2 separate regions of the Homo sapiens genome follow, and region 2 is linked to region 1. Evidence: promoter capture Hi-C in human tissues and cell types (Jung and others, 2019). All regions are on one chromosome and are shown on one strand. The core of a region is centred on a gene start or on the middle of the fragment in contact, and the rest is flanking DNA. Distances in the headings are between cores, read along the strand shown.

Region 1 (4,199 bases), core at 513-3,012:
CTATTGAAAACTCCACAATATAACATCATAATTATAACAATTAACATGTGTATTTAATAATAGCTTTAATAATCCTATGCATTATTTGCTCAAAAGATTCATGATACATTTAAATAATAGCGTTAGCTGGAATAAGAAAGTACCATATTTCACTCCTACTATTGTACACAGAGAATAAAATTCACCCACTCTTTTAAAAAAGATACTGCAAGGATTGTAATTTCAGAACAATTATTTTTACTCATTACCCCTAGAACATAGTATACACTCAGCAAATGTTGCTTGAAGGAATGAATGGATATGTGTGATTGGATGAGAAGCACACTCAGGGAAAATGCCTCGTCTCTGGTTGTTACAGGACTACTGCATGGACAACTGCTGTCACAGTAGGGTTTCTAAAATCTCCCTGCCATATTTTATTTTGGTTCATGTGTGTGTGACAATGATAAGGAATTCAGCCTAGCAAGTCTGTCTGCATTAAATAGAGGTGCTATGTATGCAAAAAGCAGGGACACCACATATAATATCTCTCAGGTACTTCCCAAGGTTTGCTTCCTCACGAGACTTGATATTGATTCTGGTGCCTCAAATCTATTTATATTTGGGAGCAGTCTCACTGTTACTCTTGGTTACACCTTATCAAATCTGTCCGAGGGACAGTGCCTAACCCAGGGTTGTCAGCTTTGGAACTGTAATTGTTTTTTTTTTTTTTTTTTTTTTTTTTTTTTTTAATATGCCAGCGGACGCTAGCCACGGTGCTGAAAGAGACAAGAGGATTCTATTTGAAACCTTTTCTTCCTCTTATTGGCTTAGAAAATTCGAGTGACAAGAGCAGGGGCCAAAGGAGCCTGGTGCAGCATCACTAATGTGAACCATGTATTTCGATCTTTTGGGCGGAGATGTGGTCCATCAGGTTACAGCCAATGCCTTCCTATGAGCGCTCGCTAGACCAAGAGACCTTATGAATGTAGTAGCCGCTGCAGTAGAAAAGGTTACATCTAGCAGGATGTCTTATCCCTCTCCTGAAAAATTGACAGTTAAGTGCATAGCCTAGAAACAAGAGCAGGGAATCTAGACGGAGGGGAGGCGAAGGGGGGAGCAAACCTGTATTCATATTGAAAATGTTCACTATTTTCGTATAAAGTAAAGAAAAATCAAGAGCTAATTTTAGGTTAAGTTTTCGGCCTCAGTTTTCCAACAGGTGCACGACTCCCTCACCCCTTCCCTGTCAGGTACTGTCCTGTTTTACCTTTTTAGAAAGGCTTTCTTCGCAAGGCAAGCTTTTCCTAGAGTCCTTAAGCATGTGCAGTTTCCCATCTCATGCACAGCTCCGGCTCTAAGCCTGGCAACCCCTTACCTGCAGCGTGAAGATTAAGGAGCAGGCACAGCGCAGGGAAGCAGACTGCTCTCCGCATAGTGTTTGCATTGAGAGGTGGAGGAGAAACTCCACCACGACCCCACTTCAGGTAAAGTGCTATTAGAAAGAGCCACCGCCAAGGGTCTTCTAGTCTCCGGGATTCAGGTCCTCGGCTGGGGTTTGCAGAGCAGTCAGTCTGTGGCGCCGACAGAAACCAGCACCAGCTTCAACCTCCCTAAGAGAGGGAGAGAGGAAGAGCAGTAGGAGGTTGCGGGTAAGGGGAACAGAAGCGCTCAGAGGCGGCAAATGCCTGGCCTTCTGGACGCCCAGAAGCCAAGGCGGAGACGGCAGGGTGGACTCCGCGCCAGCCCAGCAGCCCAGCAGCAGCGCCGCGGCTACTGAGCATGCCCAGCGCCGGCCCTCACGAGGCAAGGGAATTTCAAAGTGAAATTCCGCTTCTCCGGGTCTTAGCGGCGGCTTGGAGCAGAGTAGGCTCCATCGCTGGGGTGGTGGTTGGGGGTGGGGGTGGGGGTGGGGAAGGGGGAAGTGCGGGGGAGACACTTGCTGTGGTTACTAGGGACCCAGCGTCCATCACAAATCCGAAGGTGGGGTGTAGCTGAGTGAGAGTAGATGGGGGCACGACCACAGGAGTCAGAGGAGGGAGCTGATGACATTGTCAACCATGCCACCCACCCTACTCTTTCCCCAAATCTTGATTTACACGTGGACCGAGCTCACTGCTGGGAATTGGCATTTGCAGATTGACCAGCTTCCCAGGACTCGCCTACAGGAATAGAGGTGTCTTCCACTGCTGAGCATTCTGGCTGCTCGGGGGAAGCGTTCCCAAGGCAGCTTGCTTGGTGTAAGCAGTAACCATGTATCTTGGGGGTGACTTCGTCCTTCCTACAGCTTCCCCCTCTTTGCTTCTCTTTCCACTCTTTCCAGCTCAATGACTGTATTTAAACTTTCTTCTGACTCAAGTCCTCACAGTGACAGAAAGAAGTGAGAAGATACTTTTAGACTAGTAGAATATATCCATGTAATTGAAGCACAAGAAGGCACCTTTTTGTTTCGTGGAGGTAATTAACTTTAGTTTCCCTTTTACTCTTTAAGGTGAAAGATAATGGATCACGTCAGTGCCTGGACTCATCCGGCCCAGCTCTGTGTCTCTAGGGAGGCTACCACAGTCTGCCATTAGATGGTTTTTTATCCCTCCATCTAAGTCTTTGGAGTGTGGAAAGCCTTATTAGTCATGGCTAATTGCTGCTAGTCAAGTCAAGAAGTCCCTCAGCTAGACTTCTCTTTTAACTATCCCAGGGCCTCTGCCCTTTCTGCCTCTGTGTCTTTATGGACACTGTTGCCTCTTTCCCATTTTCCTCCACTTGCACCACCACCACACTAGTTTTCGAAGGTGTAATGTTGGTCTCACTTTTCCAGAAAGCCCTAACTCTAACTAACTCTAGATTACAGTGATCTTTCTCTTCCACAACACTTGTTTAGCCGTGCCTCATATTATTCTTTCAGACAGTTCATTTATCTGTGGTTTGTTCTACAGCACATTGAAGTCTCCATAAGAACTGCTGAGTTTTGTATTCCATTAACTTGAATAAAGTTGTCCTAGCCAAATAATTGGGGCTAACAAGTGCCCATTGAGTTGAGCTGCACATCTCATTCAGTGCTTTCTTTCTCCATCCTCTGTGAATTGAGACAACTAATGGGAAATAGGCTATCCACCAGAGCTTAAATTAGGTGGGACCTTATAAGATCAGAGAGCCCAGGCGGTACCATTTATTTCTTTTATGATTTATGTCATCTTCAGCTCTGAGAGACAAGGCCAGGAAGCACTCCAACAAGTGGGAGAAGGGGACAATGAGATGTACTTTTAATATCTTGACAGGCCTTCTCTGCTGAAAATAGAGACATATCTCCATGTCTAGCCCCTCTCTAGCAACGTGCTCCACCCCCTACTCCCCCATGCGTGTGGCACACTCCATTTCTGTGGCACTATCATTTCATCCCAAACCACTCTAAGCTGCAACCTCTTCTCCTATTCCTGATTCACTGTCCTCCAGTTTGCTTTTCCCGTATCACTTTCTAACAAACCAAAATAATTACTTATAAAATCTATTGTTTAGTATCTATTTCCCTACTCCCCCCCGCAAAACAGAATTTGAGCTCCAATGTTGAAGAACTTTGATGACTTTATTGATATGTCCCAACTCCCTAGAGCAATGCCTCATGCAAAATAGATACTCAAAAATGAATAAATGAAAATGATAGTTGACAAAGTTCAATACTGACAATTAACTCTTTGAAATTCTTACTGAGTCAACCTTTGAGATAATTTATTTAGCATTCTGTAAAGCTTAGAAGAATAACTCTTCTCATCTAACATCTGTTACTAGAAATGCTGCAGGGCTGGAGGTTAGGGAAAAATAATTGTATCCCACTTACAATAGGTCTATTTTTCTTATTTTCTTGTTTCCTAAAATAACTAATTATCAAACTTACATAGATCTCCAAGAATAAAATATACTTACTTATGGTAATGAAACAATGCTGCAGTAATGTTCTGAACCCCTTCCTTTTCCACAGATAATTCCAACATTTATTGGTGGGGCATTTAAAATTCCCATTATTATAATTGACTATGACTTTGCCAAAAAGCATCCTGCTGGCAATGTATTTTGTTCAGGGCTGCAGGTAGCTGAATTGTTAAACTATGCATGAAAATTCCGTTAGCAGCAAAAATTTCCAATTTCCAATTTGGCTGGATATATCATTAGAATAGTTAGTTCAGCATGGTAAAAATAACCCTGAGTGGGCTGTAATTTTGGTGACT
Region 2 (4,199 bases), core at 655-3,154, 170 kb before region 1:
AACATTTGCTTGCCTGTTTACACTTGGATTTTGGAGAAATATGAATCAACAACGAAAATGGGAAAGCCAAGGAAATCTTGACCTTCTCAATTGTTCTTGACAGGTCAATTTTATGATTTATATTAGTGTAAAACAAAGTCTAGTCCAAAGTCCTTCCTTACCATTCATGAGCTTATGTTTTTGATGAGAAACCTTTGTAACATATTTTCCAATCAGTCATCTGTTTACTTCATGTCTGGTTACAGGTCAACTTTGCAACCTGTCTCTGTGTGGTACGTGTACAAACTGATTTCTACATCTTTAATTAGGGAAAAGTAGAACCTGGAGAATGTATGATGTATATAAGATAGTGTTTAAAAATACTCAAGAGATTGGGCTGTCTGAAAAAATATGGAAAAAATGGAAGAGATTGCTACTTGGCAATAGGGTAGTTGTCATGAAATTAAGCTATAAGGCAGTGATTCTCAACTGGCAGGGATTTTGCCCTCAGGAAACGTTTGGCAGTGTCTGGAGGTATTTTTGGTTGTCATATTTTCAGGGTGTGGGGGAAGGAGAAGGGAAAGGGTGCTACTGGCATCTGGTAGGCAGAGGCTAACTACCTTTACAATGCATTGGAAAGGCTCACCACACACCCCCGCCAACAGAAATAGTAACTCCGAAATGTCAGTAGTGTTGTTTGTAAAACCCTGACGTAAGGGATCATAAAATTTTTGTGGTGTAATCTCCTCATTTCACATTTAAGTCCTGAGCTATTGGATGAGTTATGGAGGTTTGGAAAGAAAACCTAGAATCCAAGTTTTGTGACTTCCAGGTATGTGATCATTCAACTCTATTGTTTCCTCCAAAGTCTCATGTCCTTCTTTGAAACCTCTTTCCGAAAGCATCTGGAAAAGTGTGTCAGAGATTTTTCTCTGCACAGATTGAGATCTGGAATATAGCATATTCATATTTCTCTATGGGAATTCACTTTGTTGAAAAACTCAACCTAAAAGCTTACCGTAGCAATGGCAAGTCAACATTTTGCCTTCATCTCCAAGAGCTTGTTTGACTCTTGGACTGGAATAAAGTCATGTAATAATTTAAAAAAGGAAAAGAGAACAGATTATTGAATGAGAGGAGCTGTAAAACTCAAACTATAGCAAGAGAAAGAAAATAATAGTGGGAATAAAAAAACCAGAGGAACACAGAAATGGGAGGAAGCTAAAAAAATTCGATGAAGCTTTTCTGCAGCTTAAAATTTTCGTTCAAAAATCTCATGAGTAACACAAAACATTCTGTCAAATGTGTTCAGATTTCAAAACGATGCCACCAACCACTAGTCTTTAACATTTGTTCTTTACAGTGTTTTACAATTAGTTCTGAAAGAGTTCATTCACTCTTTTAATTTAATAATCCTGAGTCAATCCCTACTACATTCCATAAACAAGATATTGTAGATGCAAAAGTAACACAGAACTCTGTCTTCTGGGAATTCATAGGCTTCCAGAAAAGATAAATGTGTAAAAATTATGTTCAGTACAAAGTACTAAGTGCAAAAATAGAGGTGTGCCCACAGCACAGAGGTATAATGTGGCACACATTTACCAGTTCCATCTGGGTAGAATGGCTCTGATAAATACAGCCATTCGCATCTGCTACTACTGGAGTTATTTGTGGCCAGAAATATATGTTCACAAGACAGAGTGATAAGACTAAAAACAACAACAACAACAACAAACAACAACAACCACAGTTTGACTCCTTTATGAAAACAAATGGAATTATGGTAAAGAATGCTGACTTTCAATTTAGATAGACTTGGGTTTGAATTTTTACCACTTTCTACTCTGCCACCCCCATATCCACCCATTGCATGTTCTTGGTCAAGTCATTTATTTTTTCTGAATCTTAGTTTTCTCATAAGTAAAATTAGGAAACTAAAACATGTTAGGCATTTAGCACTACAGTAAATTTAGTACCAGTTTAGTACCAATAAGTGTGCAATAAATGGAAGAAACTAATTTTTAATGTTATTACTATTAAGACAATTGTATTCTTCTTAATACAGAAAAAAAATTGAAAATTAATTTGAGATATATGCCTACCTAACCAATCATTCCAGTTAGGAATCTGGTCCTAGTTCCCTTCATCCCGAGGGATTATATTTAACAAATGAGAAAATTATGTCCACCTTTGACATGTATTTATTACATGATGTTAAGGCTATAGCAGGTGGTTCAATGTAGGATTTCTTGCTGCGGCTACCAGACTACAACTAGAGAAACTCTTTCCCTCCCATATGGATGACTCTCCTATGGGTCTAACATGCCAGTGTTTTTATTGATCCAAACAACTATTTTCATGTGATTTCTAAAACTGCTTTCCAGAAGCAATCTGGCCTGTAGACATCTCTAGCTATATTTCATAAATGTCTTTGTACTTGTTAATAAACCTGTAAGGACATTTGGATGTCTAATTTAGATGATAAATGGTGTTCTTTCTATTATTTGTTCAAGTTTAAGAACTAATTCTTCTTAGTAAGTTTCTTTCATCTAAAACAGACTGAATGGATTGGAAGTTGCCCACACATTTTTTCTTGGAAAACTGTATTTTTCTATTTGTCGCTCCACCCACTGCACATTCACATTTGTGAGGTGCTAAATAAGTCAGCATATTTGAAAATGTCATGCCTGTCTAATTTTATGCCTGGCAACATTTTTTTTTTGTATTTTAAGGAAAGTAAACAATATGCCACTTTTCAAAAATTCTGCCAAGTCTTATGTTGTTGTTACATAGCACATACAACCTTCCATTACAGCAATTTACCTATATAATTTTATAATAAAACCCATGCTTTTCATTTCTACGGCATGTAGGAATGCCAATGCAAATGGAGGCACTTGATTTGTTATAAATATAATCAATGCCAGGGGGAAAATTCTGAGTTATATCTTTCCTTTGTCATGGAATCAACAAAACTATGGGAAACAGAGTTGGAATACATGTGTTTCAGAATCACGAAAGTGATAGTACAAGTATCACTGAGAAATGCACGTGAAACACTTACTTTAAATCAAGCTTATTATCAAAATAATTTGAACACTTAGAAAGATGAGCTTATTTTAGATAATCGCTTTGACATGTCCCTAAACATGAACTCTTGACTCCTCTGTGGTAAGTTCCATCAGATAAACTTGGCTTTGTGCTAATCCTATTAGGTAGTACTTCTTTTCTTGTGAATATGAACTTCCCGTCTGTGTGCTGCGGGTTCCTCTGTTACTTTTCAGAATTTGTTTTTATTTATATATTTTTCAGAGGCAGAGAATCTGAAGCCCAGGCTGGAGTAAAGTGGCATGATCATAGCTCACTGTAGCCTCAAACCCCTGGGCTCAAGTGCTCCTCCCCGTCAGTCTCCTCAGTAGCTGGGACTACAGGCATGTGCCATCAGCCTGGATGATTTTTTAAACCCTTTTTTTTTTTTTTGTAAAGACAGGGTCTCACTGTGTTGCTTAGGCTAGTTTTAGACCCCTGGGCTTATGCAATTCCCCTGCCTCTGCCTCCCAAGTGCAGGGATTACAGGCGTGAGCCACTGCACTTGGTCCCCCTGTTACTTTTAAAAGTGACTCCTTCAAATTAAAATTTAAGACAGTGTTTGAAATCCATCTAATTATTTCTTTCATTTCTTTAAGAACCATCTGAACACGCTCATCCTCATTCTGAACGTGTCCCTCTCCCAGGAAATGAGAACATTTCCACACAGTCAGGGAAGCCAAATAACCTAGGAGTCATCCTTAATTTTACCCCTGTTGCTGAGGATTGGGACACAGCAAGTTTTGTCGGTTCTACTTTCAAATAGATCTCAATCCTTCACTTCTCTCCTTCCCCACCACCCACCCCTGTTCTATGCCACCAGCATCTTCTTCACTGGGATATTGCAGAAGCCTCCAGAAAGATCCTCCTCCTTCCACAACTCTCCCCATCCTCTGTCCACCACCACTTTCTACCAGAAGAAAATGTGATTTTTAAACACACACAGCAGATCATATCAAGGCTCTGCCTAAAACATTCTTCCCCTAGAGCCTGAACAGGCTAAGCTTATTCTAACTGCACCCACAGTACCCTCTGCCTAGGGGTCCTTTACTCACATATTCACCCATAGGTCTCAAACATCTCAGGTTGCTCTGCTCCACTCACTCATTATTATGGTTTCTTCTTCATAG

What was found. Contacts are between HindIII fragments. The study calls those that stand out against the background at their distance.
Region 2: a fragment that was not itself captured here is called in contact with the fragment with the promoter of PTPRR in region 1 in 3 of the 25 tissues and cell types used here (dorsolateral prefrontal cortex, hippocampus and mesenchymal stem cells).

The regions. Positions count from the first base shown.
Region 1 is chr12:70,918,976-70,923,174 of GRCh38, forward strand. It overlaps PTPRR (protein tyrosine phosphatase receptor type R), which reads right to left and starts at 1,763. Exons shown (of 14, transcript NM_002849.4): 1 at 1,358-1,763. The coding sequence starts at 1,415. The HindIII fragment of the contact is 3,890 bases long and covers 215-4,104 here.
Region 2 is chr12:70,747,459-70,751,657 of GRCh38, forward strand. The region is part of intron 5 of PTPRR (protein tyrosine phosphatase receptor type R); the gene reads right to left. The region is part of intron 1 of LOC124902960 (a long non-coding RNA gene); the gene reads left to right. Among named protein-coding and RNA genes, the nearest start is that of PTPRB, 110 kb to the left of the region's middle. The HindIII fragment of the contact is 3,321 bases long and covers 245-3,565 here.